Regions from separate parts of the Homo sapiens genome. Here region 1 is linked to region 2. The links are contacts of gene promoters, found by promoter capture Hi-C in blood cells and fetal thymus (Javierre and others, 2016). All regions are on one chromosome and are shown on one strand. Each heading gives the region's core, a stretch centred on a gene start or on the middle of the fragment in contact. The rest is flanking DNA. Distances are from core to core; before and after follow the strand shown.

Region 1 (6,816 bases), core at 2,094-4,593, 570 kb after region 2:
TGTGAATGAAAAGGGCGTTTGTTTAACTAAGAAGAAACATTTATTCCTGATTTCTTGCCCTAATATTATGCACTCAGATATTGGATTAAAATGGTTGTGTAGAAGATGGATCCTTGACAAGAGCTATCCAGGCTTCAAAGTAGCCTAGATAAATGTAGCGTTTAGGAGCACAGATCAGGCCTGATGTTTCCACTGGAAGATGATTCTCTGAAGGGCCTACTTAGTTGTTCCAGATGGCTGATCAATCACACAGGTTTTGGTTAATTTGATATGTTCAATCTTGGCCAGTTGCCTTTAAGACTTTCATAGAGAAATACTTTCAAAGGAGAAAAGAAACATCTAAAATCTGATTATAAAAAGCAAACATGAAATTCAAAGAAGTATGTAGGGGAGATTCAACTTTTTTTTTTTTTCTCAGAGAAGTCTCAGAACACAGAGCCTGCCTTATAAAACTTTAGGTACTAGATCCAGGAGAAAATAAGTTGAACTGTCCTGCAGCATAAACGGTTTTCTTTGCCACTTTACTTTTCATTTCATTCATGGATGTGAAAATTCCTTTAGAAACTTGTTCTAATCAGAACTTTAGAGAATAATGTGATGTAGAATATGGTATGAAGAGAAGCCAGTGTATTCTCGTTTTTTTTGTTTTTGTTTTTGAGGCAGAGTCTCACTCTGTCGCCCAGGCTGGAGTGCAGTGGCACCATCTCATCTCACTGCAACCTCTGCCTCCCAGGTTCAAGCGATTCTCCTGCCTCAGCCTCCCAAGTAACTGGGATTACGGGTGCGTGCCACGACGCCCAGCTAATTTTTTTTGTATTTTTAGTAGAGACAGGGTTTCGCCATCTTGGTCAGGCTGGTCTTGAACTCCTTACCTCAGGTGATTCACCCACCTCTGCCTCCCAAAGTGCTGGGTTTGCAGGTGTGAGCCACTGCACCCGGCCGCCAGTGTATCCTTATTGCTATGTAGAAGATTCATCGTGGCCATGAAGCTGGCCTCCAGAGTCCTCCCAGAGTTCCTTGCTTAGTGGGTGGTGGAGTGGGCAGAGAGGTGGGCTGGCTGTATTCAGACATCTGTTCTCTGCAAGTTTTTGATGCACACACTTTTAAGTGAGGTTTGCAGAGATGGTCATTTAATTCCTGGAAGAAATGGGATAGTATATGCATATCCTTTGTCATTTCTACGGACTAGAGCTTCTGTCCAGAGGTGTGTTTACCGCTGTGCATAGAGGAACTGGAGCTGATGGCTGTCAAGATGCAGGCACTTCCAGGCAGTTGCCAGCACCACCTCCTACTTCCTTCTTTTTTTTTTCTTTTTCTTTTTTTTTTTTTTTGAGACAGAGTCTTGGTCTGTTGCCCAGGCTGGAGTGCAGTGGCATGGTCTCGGCTCACTGCAACTTCTGCCTCCTGGGTTCAAGCAATTCTCCTGCCTTAGCCTCCTGAGTAGCTAGGGTTACAGGCATGCGCCACCACACCCGGCTAATTTTTGTATTTTTAGTAGAGACGGAGTTTCGCCGTGTTGGCCAGGCTGGTCTTGAACTCCTCACCTCAGGTGATCTGCCCACCTCGGCCTCCCAAAGTGCTGCGATTACAAGTGTGAGCCACTGCACCCGGCCTCCACCTCCTACTTCCTTCTGAAGGTGCTCGCCAACCAAAGAGAAACTAGGCAGAGCCTGTACTCACTTGTCAGCCTGATGGCATGAGGTGTCACTTTTATGGCTCTCGGTTTCAGGATTGCTGATAGTCCACACTGGGTGAACGTATCAGGGGTGTGTGGATGGATAAAAAGTCAGGATACCTGAAATATGCTACAGATGTAAAAATCACTTCATCAGGTACATAACTTCCTTCTAATTTATTTTTCTATTACCGACTCATGCTAGACAGCTGCTAAAGTTAATGCGATTTTTATTAAAGCAAAGTCTTCATTAGAATTTCTCTCCTTGGAGACTGGGCACGGTGGCTCATGCCTGTAATCCCAGCATGTTGGAAGGCCAAGGTGGGCAGGTCACGAGGTCAGGAGATCGAGACCATCCTGGCTAACACGGTGAAACCCCGTCTCTACTAAAAATACAAAAAAAAATTAGCTGGGCATGGTGGCAGGTGCCTGTAGACCCCACTACTTGGGAGGCTGAGGCAGGAGAATGGTGTGGACCCGGCAGCTGGAGCTTGCAGTGAGCCGAGATCCTGCCACTGCATGCCAGCCTGGGCAACAGAGCGAGACTATGTCTCAAAAAAAAAAAAAAAAAAAAAAGAATTTCTCTCTTTGGATTATCACTATAGGATGGGCCACCTCTCCCACAGTGGGAAGCTCCTTTCCTCTCCTTGCTGCTGTCTCTCTCTGCTGACCCTGGCAGTGTCCCCAACTCAGCTCCAGCTCCTTCCACATGCCCTGTTTTTTCTAACCACAAGTAGGAGGATGGGGCAGCAAACTTCCCACCGCTCTGCATTGCTTATTCAATGATACCTACACTAATCATCCCTCAATCTTACTTCAACCATCTGCCCTTGGGTTGGGGGATGGGGTTGCTGTGCCTGAAGGTTGGGGTTGGATGAGCCTTGGAAGGTAGGGATTGCGTGTATCTGGAGGGTGGGAGTTGGGAGTATCTGGGGGTTGGGGAGATGGGTGGGTCTGGTGGGTAGGGGCGGATGAGTGTGGGTGGGTAAACAGTGCAGAGACTCTGGGCTCAGAATCCCAGGCTTAGAAAGGAAAGAAACCTTGCCTTGAGTGGGGGAAATACTCCTCAGGACCAGTCAGGCTTGTGGCTGAAGCTCTTCTGGAATGTGAGGCCTCATTGGCAAGAGATTAAGACTGTGTTCTCTCTCTCTTAACAATTTTTCTGCTTGTATTCTGCCTCCACCTTCCCGCTCTATTCTCTTTCCAGGATTTTAAGGACAAACGCAGAGTGTGTATAAGCTTAATTCTCCAATGAGATATTAAAATACGATTTATAAATTGGGTGCAACCAATAGTTTGTTGCCTTGGAGATGCTCCCATGAAAATAAATAGAACCTGAAACCATCAGTATAGCTTGGCTTTTCTTTTTAGAAAAATGTAACTCAAAATCCAGATCATGTAGCTGGGGGCAGATTCTGCTGTTAGTCTCCTAAGATTGGCTTGGGGGTTTTCTGGTCATGTGGTGGGTGGTGAATGTGGGCGTCCCTTGCAGGTGAGGAGGATGTGAGAAGCTGTTCTCTCTAGAGGTTGCATTGGTCCCATGAGCAGTTATGAGTGCTGGTCTGCTTTGCCACAGCTACCTGCTCATTCTCTGGCACAGTCGTGTGTGATGTGTATTCAGCGTATGTTCTGTTGTTGAGGCCAGTGTGGGCTGGTTCGGGGAAGCACCCAGGAATGGGACTGAACTCCTGCATTTGACTAAGTGCAATCTTGTCAGTCTTGTGGAAAACCCAAGCACAGGTAACTTATTTGAAGTTTTGTTCACATAAAAAGAATCTGCAATGTTTTCTGTTTATATCTTATTTGACTTAGTTTATTTTGATTTAATAAACTGAGCTATAATTAAATGTAAAACATTTATGAGTTACAAAAGTATATGGTATGCTCACCTTTCTTCAAAGAAAGGCTATTCAAAAAACAAACGTATTATTTTTTATGTGTGAGGAAAGTAGCTTCATCTGTCTTAGTCCGTTTGTGTTGCCATAAAGGGGTATCTGAGGCTGGGTAATTTACAAAGAAAAGAGGTTTATTTGGCTTACAGTTGTGTAAGCTGTACAAGGAGCATGGCACTGGCATCTACTTCTGTTGAGAGCTTCAGGAAGCTTCTACTCATGGTGAAAGGTGAAGAGGAGCCAGCGTGCAGATCACATGAAAGAAAAGGCAAGAGGGGATGGTGGGAGGTGTCAGGCTCTTTTTAACCATCAGCTCTTGCAAGAGCGAATACAGCAAGAATCATTACCATGAGGATGGCACCAAGCCATTCATGAGGGATCCAGCCCATGACCCAAACACTTCTCAGTAGGTCCCACCTGCAACATTGGGAATATGTGTCAACATGAGACTTGGCCAAATCAAACAAACCATATTTAAACCATAGCATCATCTTACCAGCCACCCTGCACTTAATACAACTGTCGAATTGGACATTATGAATAATTGGAACACACATCTGCTTCTTCCTACTAGCAAGCCTTTATGTACACCATCCCAGCAGGCCTTTTGCTCCCGCCTCTACTCCACTTGTTTGAATACCATGAAAGGCCCAGCCCATCCCTGTCTCTTTTGTGGAGCCTTCCTGACTTCCTTTGTCACAGAGGTGCTCTCTTTGTCTTGTATTGTTCAAAGCCTATGTTCTGTCCATGAACACACCCTGCCTGCAATTATATGGTGTGCTTTAAGAGATCTTAGACAGACATTCCTGGAGAAGTGCATTTTGTTCACATGTTGATCCTGCATAGTGAATAACATATGAATATACTCCATAATTTGTGGTGGTAGTGATGGTGGTGGTGGAGAGAATGAACCCAAAACTCTTACGAAGCCATTTTTTGACATATCTACCATACATTGAAGAATACTGATGTTGATGACATTCCCAGCTGGAGGCCAGAAACGAGCTTCCCTTGGTTCAGTAAAAAAATAGGATAATAATCTCTGGGTAGGATTTTCAAATTTAAAAAGGAATTTCCTGTTATTTTAACCAGTAGCTGGAATATACATTATCATCCTTGTTTGACTGGAGACGCAACTGCAGCACAATGTCAAATAGTGGGTTAGATAGGAAGCTGAGTGCAACATCCACACAGAGCTCAGTGGTTTGCAAACTTATGTGCAACCGACAGTCACCCCAAGCACAGCCCTGGAGAGTTGCATCCAGTTAGTCAAGGATGAGATCCTAGGAATTCGCATCTGCAATGAGCTTCTCAGTTGTTTCTGATTATAGCTGAAGAGCATTTGGAGACACTCAGCAGTGGGGGCTCTTTCTGCTATCCTGTTGGGACCTCCTCCTAGGACTACATCAGTTCTTTGTGGTGAGCGATGCAAAGTAGGCCTCCAGAGCATACCCCTTCCCTCAGTCAAGAGTGCTCAGTCTTTGTGGACAAAAGAACACCTACAAGCCGTCAGCCCAGGCTGGCCATCTGGGAGAGAGAGGGCTGAACACTACCGTATATGTTTGGAAATCTTCCCTGTGCATGTGCCTTGCCCATTAAATCTTCAGTCTCCTAAAATGCTGCCCTGCTTCCCTCACCTTGGTTCCGATACTTCCTGATCCATGACTTAAAGCATTTCTTTGATTTGTTCCTCTTATATATCTAGATCTCTGATATCTGATGCTCCTAACACATATACCAGAAACCCAGAATTAGGATTCATACACTTGCCGTCATAAAGGCATGGCTCTGGCCATCTGAACCAATCTCCTCTCACCTCAGACACACCCATGCATCTCACAGGCCTTCCTCACTCAGCACCCTGTCCAAATTTACCAACACAAAAACGTGCTTCCATTTTGGGTTGTCATGACTATGTCATTAGAACTTTATGATTGCAAAACAGATATGCAAATAAGTGCAAATTGAACACACCATCTGCTAAATCTCTAGGGTTCTCATCATTACATAAATGACCAAGGTATTGACTCAAAAAGAAAAGATGCCTGTCAGCCTCCTGGAATACTCCTTAGCAGAAACTTTTGCCATCAAGAAGATGTAGAACAAAATCCATGCCCCAAGGGAAAGTAATATAACCATAGATACTTAGGGAAGCAGCAGAAAATCTCATTACTTAAAGGTTGATTTTTATCTAATGATGCAAGTGAACAGTAGCAGGATTCCAAGGGGAGGCAGGATAAGCAGGGAGGCTCATAGTTTTGTTGATTCTTATATATATTTTTTCGTATATAACTAGCTATGTTTTTGTTTATTTTCTAGTACTTATATACATTCTCTCAAAGCTGCTGACAAACAGCACACCTGTATGGCAGGCAAAACTACACAATCTCTATGAGTCTTTATATTGGCTTTGTTGACTGGTAATGGATAACATTTCAACTACCGGCCATCTCCAAACAGCAAATGCCAAATATTCAGTGGCATATGCTACGTAGCTATCAGGGGAGGTAAGCGCTCAGCACACCTATAAGCCATTCCAGAAGCTCCTTCAGAACCATTCAGTGAGCTCCCTGGAAAAGTTAACCTTACTTTTTATCTACATGGATGCCATACAACTTGCTTTTTACATCAGGGAAAAAAGGAGAGAGTCAAAAAGCATAACTGGCAAAGTACCAGTCCAGACTCATGAAATGCAGCCAATCTCTAATATATTGAAGTTGTAACATCAATAAAATACGACATCCTGGCAATCTGTGGTGGGTGATGCAAATCCACCCATGAGCAAGTCTCTAGGGAAAAGGTTGGTCATAGTGGCTTGGGCTTGTAATCCCAGCTATTCAGGAGGCTGAGGCAGGAGGATTGCTTGAGGCCAGGAGTTCAAGACTAGCCTGGGCCAAACAGTGAAACCCTATCTCTACAAAAAAATCAAAAAGCTTTTTTAAAAAATATAGGCTGCTGTGAGCTATGGCCACATCATTGTTTTCAAGCCTGGGCAACAGAGGGAGAACCTGTCTATAAAAATAGAAAGAGAGATAGATAGATAGATAGATAGATAGATAGATAGATAGATAGATAGATAAAAATAATTAGAGAACAGGAAATAGCTATGGTTTTCTGTTTGATTCAGAGTTTCACCTCTTTATAAAATGCTTAGCTACATTTTCCTGTGTCCTCATATTTCAGTGCACCTGCCTCAATCATTTTATTAAAATGCTTTTATGTCTAACTAAACATCCCCCTTTGTTTACT
Region 2 (6,961 bases), core at 484-2,983:
TGAAGAAAGCCTGAATGAAAGGAACAAAGCCACGGCGTTGTTTACTTTCCCATTATCGCCCCAGTCTTGCGGCAGGGCCCGGGTTTCCATCCAATCCACCCGGCCCGCCACTGTCCTGGCCAGTCTCCAAGGCTTCACCCAAAAAAAGGAAGCAATGAGGTGTCCCCCAGCGCGCCTTTTCACGTAGCACAGAAGGTGCTCAGTGGGTGAATCCTCTGAAAGTGCCAGCGTGTATGGTCAAACGGCAGCAACCTCTAGCCTATTAAACTCTCCCAAGATCTCTTCCAGACTTATTCCATTGCCGGAAAAAAGGCTTTTTACATATGCGCATTTAAGTAATTAAGATATTTCAACATGGTATAAGACGTAGGGGCTCTTACTCCATCAGTACTGGATGGGAATTTCCTTTTGCCCTCTACTCCCCAGGGTAACTGCAGTCCCACCTGAATGCGTTTTGCAGCCCTTACTCGGGTTCTATTTATGCGCAGCTTGGACAGGGCTCACTGGGCCCGGCCGGGCAGCTCCGTGGCCGTCCCTCTCCACCGCCCTTCCCCCGCGCCAGGCCAATGCAAGGGTGTGTGTGTTGGGGGGAGGGGAGGACAAAAGGGGTTCAGGATCTTTTTAACCTGCCTGCAGATGGCGCCCCGGGAAAGATTCCGAGCTGCATTACCTAAGCTCCAGGGGCTGCAGCCGCGGGGTCCCGGCCACAGGGCGTCCAGCCGCGAAGACTGCACAGCAGCTCTCCGTCCTTCCCAACTCGCGCGGCTGTTCGGCACCCGTGCGAGGAACGGATGGAAGGGAATTACTTGTAGCAGGGCCAGTACTGGGGGCGTGCACTCAGGGACCACGGAGTGGCACTCAGCCTCGACCCCACGCGCCAGGCAGCCCGGCGACCCCCACGCGCGGCGGGGTCCTGCCCACCCCACCCGGCGGCAGGTGGACAGTGTTGCTATGAAGAGAAAGCCTCGATTGTCCCTACAGCAAACCGCCACACGCCAGACCTCTGCTATTGTGCGCCCTCCATAGAAATGCAAACGAGCGGCGTGCGCCGGCCGCAATCTGCTCGTCCCCGCCCGCCCCCGTCTCCCGCGCCCCGCCGCGCTCGGCCAAGGGCGGGGAGGTGGGGTGGGATCTTCCAGAGACGGCTCAATGTACACATTGAGTATGCCTGGCAGGCATCACCAGCGCGCTCGGGACGCTAGTGGTCAGCTGCAGGGGGCTGTGCCCACTGCCTTTTGCAAGCCTCTAACTGGCGCTACCTGTTTTTACCTTAATTTCTGGCTCCAATGCAACAGTCTCATAGACTTCAAATTAAAGAAAAGAAACAAATAGAAAGGTAGCAATACAAAATGCAAAAAAAAATCCCTTTGCTTCTATAAAGGTGCTTTTCGCAAATTGCAGCATCATATAAGCAAACAAGGTTTTTGTGGGTTGGGTTTTTTCTTTTTTTTTTTTTTTTACTTTTTCCTTTTAAGGACTTCAAAAAAAAAAAAAAGCCAGGCGAGATGAAATCTGCAGGCTCCAGTCTGCCTGGTAACACCCCAACAAAAGCGGCAGATTTGAGGCATTGTCATCCCCCGCACCCCTCCCCACGTGGCCTTCTGGCACGAGCCGCTGGCTCGCCGCCTCATTTACATCAGAAAGCGGGTGCCGGCCAATAGGCGCGCAGCCTCGCGCCAGCTGGCGGCGCCGCACCCACCAGCCTATATAAGGGCGCGCAGCGTAGTAGGGGCGCACTCGCTGGTGGTGGGCGCGCCGTGCTGAGCTCTGGCTGTCAGTGTGTTCGCCCGCGTCCCCTCCGCGCTCTCCGCTTGTGGATAACTAGCTGCTGGTTGATCGCACTATGACTCTGGAAGAAGTCCGCGGCCAGGACACAGTTCCGGAAAGCACAGCCAGGTGGGTTTCAGGGCGCTGAGAAAGCCGCTGGTCGGTCGGCGACCGTCAGGGTTTTCCAGGGTGGGAATCCGCGGGGTAGGAGGGGAGCGCGGGGGTCCGGGCGCCAGATCCCGGTTGGAGAGCCGGGGTGCAGGCGCTGAGCCGGGATTGGAGTGTGGTTGGAGTTGGGGAGCCAAGGGTGTGTGCCGGTGGCCGGGGCTGGGGTCTCCGCCGCGCCCTCCGGCCGGCTCCCGCTCACTGCGCTGGCTCCTCCGCAGGATGCAGGGTGCCGGGAAAGCGCTGCATGAGTTGCTGCTGTCGGCGCAGCGTCAGGGCTGCCTCACTGCCGGCGTCTACGAGTCAGCCAAAGTCTTGAACGTGTAAGTGTAGACGCGGCCCAGGCTGGGAGACAGGGGCGGGGGTGAATGGCGAGGAGACTGGCGGATGGGAGGGGTGGCGGCGGGAGAACTCGGCTAGCCGGTTCTGACCTAGGTCCCCGCCTTGCCCTCGCAGGGACCCCGACAATGTGACCTTCTGTGTGCTGGCTGCGGGTGAGGAGGACGAGGGCGACATCGCGCTGCAGATCCATTTTACGCTGATCCAGGCTTTCTGCTGCGAGAACGACATCGACATAGTGCGCGTGGGCGATGTGCAGCGGCTGGCGGCTATCGTGGGCGCCGGCGAGGAGGCGGGTGCGCCGGGCGACCTGCACTGCATCCTCATTTCGGTGAGTACAGTCCCGTCCTGTCCCCGCCCCAGTGTCGTTCCCGCCTCGGCCCGCGGCCAGCCAGGCTGACCCTGCTCTCTCTCCGCAGAACCCCAACGAGGACGCCTGGAAGGATCCCGCCTTGGAGAAGCTCAGCCTGTTTTGCGAGGAGAGCCGCAGCGTTAACGACTGGGTGCCCAGCATCACCCTCCCCGAGTGACAGCCCGGCGGGGACCTTGGTCTGATCGACGTGGTGACGCCCCGGGGCGCCTAGAGCGCGGCTGGCTCTGTGGAGGGGCCCTCCGAGGGTGCCCGAGTGCGGCGTGGAGACTGGCAGGCGGGGGGGGCGCCTGGAGAGCGAGGAGGCGCGGCCTCCCGAGGAGGGGCCCGGTGGCGGCAGGGCCAGGCTGGTCCGAGCTGAGGACTCTGCAAGTGTCTGGAGCGGCTGCTCGCCCAGGAAGGCCTAGGCTAGGACGTTGGCCTCAGGGCCAGGAAGGACAGACTGGCCGGGCAGGCGTGACTCAGCAGCCTGCGCTCGGCAGGAAGGAGCGGCGCCCTGGACTTGGTACAGTTGCAGGAGCGTGAAGGACTTAGCCGACTGCGCTGCTTTTTCAAAACGGATCCGGGCAATGCTTCGTTTTCTAAAGGATGCTGCTGTTGAAGCTTTGAATTTTACAATAAACTTTTTGAAACAAACTTATGCTCTTTATTGAGGGTAGGGGATCTTTGTGTCGGGGGAGGTGGCGTGCAGGGTTTCAGAGGATTGCTGGAACTCCGTGGAACTGATGGCACCTGTTCCGTCTTCCTGTCGGGCAAGAATGACAGGCTCCTCCCCTCTGGCAGAGGGAGGGCATGCTGCCCAGTGCTAGGGTAGAACTTGAGCCTGGCTCCTACTTTTCTCCTTTTAGGAAGATTTTAAACTTGCAAAACAGGAGCATACTTGAGATAAGACAGTGCAGCAGCTGAAGTCTTGCCTTCCAAGGCGATAACAGTGACCTGTGCCTCCCCTCCCCCTCCTCGGCCCTCCTCCCCCTCCCTCCTACAGCTGCTTATCTGAACAGCTTGCAGGAGGCCTCAGGCTTTCCTGCACAATGAGCATTGCCTTCTGCAGGCCCTGCCCTTTGTGGTCCCTGAGGATGGTGGCAGACTGCTCCTGCTCTTGGGGACTTTTTCCTCTTAAATGCTCTGACACAAAGCAATGCTACAAAGGTACTAATACCAAATATGACATTGATGACTGCATTTAAGTATGAGTCATTACTTTGTCATGGCTGTGATAGAACTTGGAAGATCTGAGAAAAAATTGGAAGGCAGCATCTATATAAATAGGCATGAGCAATTCTGAGGGGGCCTGGCATCTGCTATCTACTATTTTCAGTGTTCTCTGCCCACATCAGAGTTACGAGGATTGCTGCTATTCACAATTCCGTTTAAAGACTCATAGGAAAAAAAAATTAAATATTTTAAGCCAAGACTTTCTTTAAAAAGGAACTAGGGGGAAATGTCCTGATCGAATCAATCTTTTTTATGAGACCAATATGCCTTGAGTTCGTTCTGTGTCTAACTAGCTGCTTTCAGCAGGGGAAATACATGTGGGACCCTTGTGCTGTCAGCTAGACTGCCAAGCAGGCTGAGCCTTCTGGGCAAAGGAGGCATGATGTGCTGTCTTCAGTGCTTGGGGTGGCTGATTTACCTCATTGAGTGCCACGTCCTAAAATTCCGTCCAAATTACGGGAGGATTCTTGAGGCAACAGGAAAACTGTACTGAATTACTCTTCTTGTAATGAAAGCGTCCTTGTTTTCCATTTATCAGCTCCTAAAAACATCTACTCCTCAATGGGACAGAAGCCTAGATAAAAAATTCAGTTGTATTTGTGCCCAATTTTCATTACTATTTTACCTATTTGCTGCTTGAAATCTTAAGGTTTTCTTATTGAGGTAGTCTTGGGGTGGGCCTGTCTACCAGTCTGCGTTCCAGCAAAATGACCAGAACATGCTATTGTAAACACAAAGTGGACTTGATTACTTTAAAATGAACCCTTAAATGAGTAAATTCAGCAGAACATTGCACAGAGCAGGTAGGCAGACCCTCCTGTTGGCCAAGCGACACTTGTAGAACATGAGGTTGTAAGCCCTTGGTTTTTTGATTAGAGCTTGCTATGAGGCCACCTGTTGGAACCCCAAAGGGCTAGGAGAATTTTCAGGTGAATAAATGCATGATGGGACACAGTGCCATGCCCAAAAGTTGTGCTAAACTTTTTCTTTTTTTTTTTTTTTGATGAACAGGTGTTTAATGCTATTAACATGAACTAACTCAGAGGGCAGATAATAAAATGTCCAGTGTTTATAAACACATAATTGCATTTAGTACTTCCAACAACCCTATATGATAATGCATATATAAGCCCTCAGTGCGTGGTAATTATCACTACATATGTGTTGGGGGTGACCCATAAAGACGAGCACAATGCCTGGCATCTAGAAAGCACTGAATGAATGTTAATGACAATAATACTTAAAAGCTAACGAAGACATTTGTCCCAGACCACAGAACTCCAAGTGAACTAGTGGGTTTTGGACTAGCCGTCTGGTTTCAGGACCAACACGTTGCTGCCATGAACTTCCGGGTGCTGGAGCACTTGCGGCAGGCTTATTTTGGAAAGAAGGCTATTTTCATTAGATAACTTTCTACCTTTATAAGTTATATGTATTCATTGCAGAAAAATTGTAAAATACATCAACATTAAAGAAATAAGTAAAAGTGCCTGTAACTGACCATCAGCAAGTTTTGATGTATTAATATTTCCTTCTGAACTTCTATTTTTCCTCTTACATATTCTGTAACACACACAAGCACACCCAACAGTTTTTAAGCTGCATTTGGCTTAGTCTGCATTGGATTTAGTTACCGTCTCCTTTTCCTTAACATGCTATTACAGCTCCCATATATCCACATGACCTTGGGACAGGGCTTGTCTCTGCTTTAGCAGGCTCCAGTGCCTGGGTGAAAATACACATTCCAGCCTGGGATCCAGCTGGGGCATCTTCTTTACCTTGCAGCCCTCACTGAACTGGAAACATGACTGCCGTTTGCAGGATTTTAGGTATCACATGTCTAAAACAAACCTTTGCCACCCCCAGAGCAATGAAAGTAAAGCATTCTTATTTTTAATTTTTTTAAGTTTTGCATATGGTCACTGTAAAAATTGGCACTGGCAAAGCACCTGTTGTGAAGATGAAATGGATACAGAATGACAACAGGAGCAGCTTGGAGAGTCAGGCATTCCTTGCCCACACCCAGCATTGCCCACATAGGGAGCTGAGGTCTCCTTGTTCCTCTCCTGGCAAGATGATAGGACAAAATGATCTCTGAGATTTATTTTATTTTTAAGGGCTCTAATTCTCTGTGTTATATATTTTATTAAACCATTAGCCTCAGAAGTACAATGCGTATTGGTTTTGAAGCCACTTCAGAAAAAATAAAAAATGAATTTTTCAGAGGAAAAGCAAGGATGTTGGCAAACAAACCAAGGCGTGTAGGGTCAGCTCAGTAAACAGATACCCAATTTTGCTTTTTTGAGATTCTTGTGTTTTTCAGTTGCTTTTCTAAGATGCCAACCCCTGTACTCCTCATTTGAGTATGCCCTCCAAAATGTCAAAAGTGTATTGTCTTTCCACGGTCACAAAGGAGAGACTTTATGACTTAACTGGGGGCAATGAGACATGATCCTGCGTGGTGCACCTGAGCTGCTGCAAGCGGCCGCCAGAGGAGTGGCTAAGTTCGTGTGCAGGGCCAGCTGGAAGCCTCGGGGTGCCTGGAATGACTACACGGCTTTGAATTCTGTCCTAGCGCAAACTTATATTTGGTTTTTAGGTCTAGCTCAAACTTCCCTTTATCAACTAGAATAAAATTGCCAAATAATTTCACTCCCTTCATCAACTAATAGTGTGTGAGTAAAGTTCATCCACACAGGGTGGCAGAGTCTAGATACTGGGAGCTGGTGGCTGCACCAACAAGATGCATGGCTTCTTGCCCACTGATGCAGCAGAGGCCTTTAAAACCTCTGTGAGCTCCTCATGCTGGGTAAGACAGGCACTGCCTTGGGCTGCTGGGCTTCAAGGGTAGGACATAGGCTGTCCACCATGTGGTTCAAGCGTTCATTCATTCATCCCCTCATTAATTCAGCTGGCATTTCCTGAGCACATGTGCTGTGCCAGGCACAGTGCTAGGCATGGCCTCCCCACTGATCCTTGCCTGCCTGGAAGGTCCTGACAGCATTGAGTTGAGCCCATGGCTTCGCATTCCCAAGCCCATCCGTCTCTTATTCATCCTGCCTAGAAAACACGGTGAGGACAGGAATGAGAAAGGTGAGTGTGGGG

What was found. Contacts are between HindIII fragments. The CHiCAGO score rates a contact against its expected background, and 5 or more counts as called.
Region 1: a contact is called between a fragment that was not itself captured here and the fragment with the promoter of GADD45G in region 2, in 4 of 17 cell types (total B cells, naive CD4 T cells, naive B cells and 1 more). The highest score is 7.1, in total B cells.

What each region holds. Positions count from the first base shown.
Region 1 is chr9:90,172,871-90,179,686 of GRCh38, forward strand. No RefSeq gene overlaps it. Among named protein-coding and RNA genes, the nearest start is that of MIR4290HG, 130 kb to the left of the region's middle. RefSeq lists a silencer at 3,133-3,192. The HindIII fragment of the contact is 863 bases long and covers 2,913-3,775 here.
Region 2 is chr9:89,603,279-89,610,239 of GRCh38, forward strand. It overlaps GADD45G (growth arrest and DNA damage inducible gamma), which reads left to right and starts at 1,734. Exons shown (of 4, transcript NM_006705.4): 1 at 1,734-1,896; 2 at 2,154-2,255; 3 at 2,389-2,602; 4 at 2,691-3,277. The coding sequence starts at 1,844. The coding sequence ends at 2,801. LOC105376139 (a long non-coding RNA gene) reads right to left here and starts at 1,738. Exons shown (of 2, transcript XR_930105.3): 1 at 1-1,738. RefSeq lists an enhancer at 545-1,443 and a silencer at 1,054-1,103. The HindIII fragment of the contact is 4,421 bases long and covers 1-3,242 here.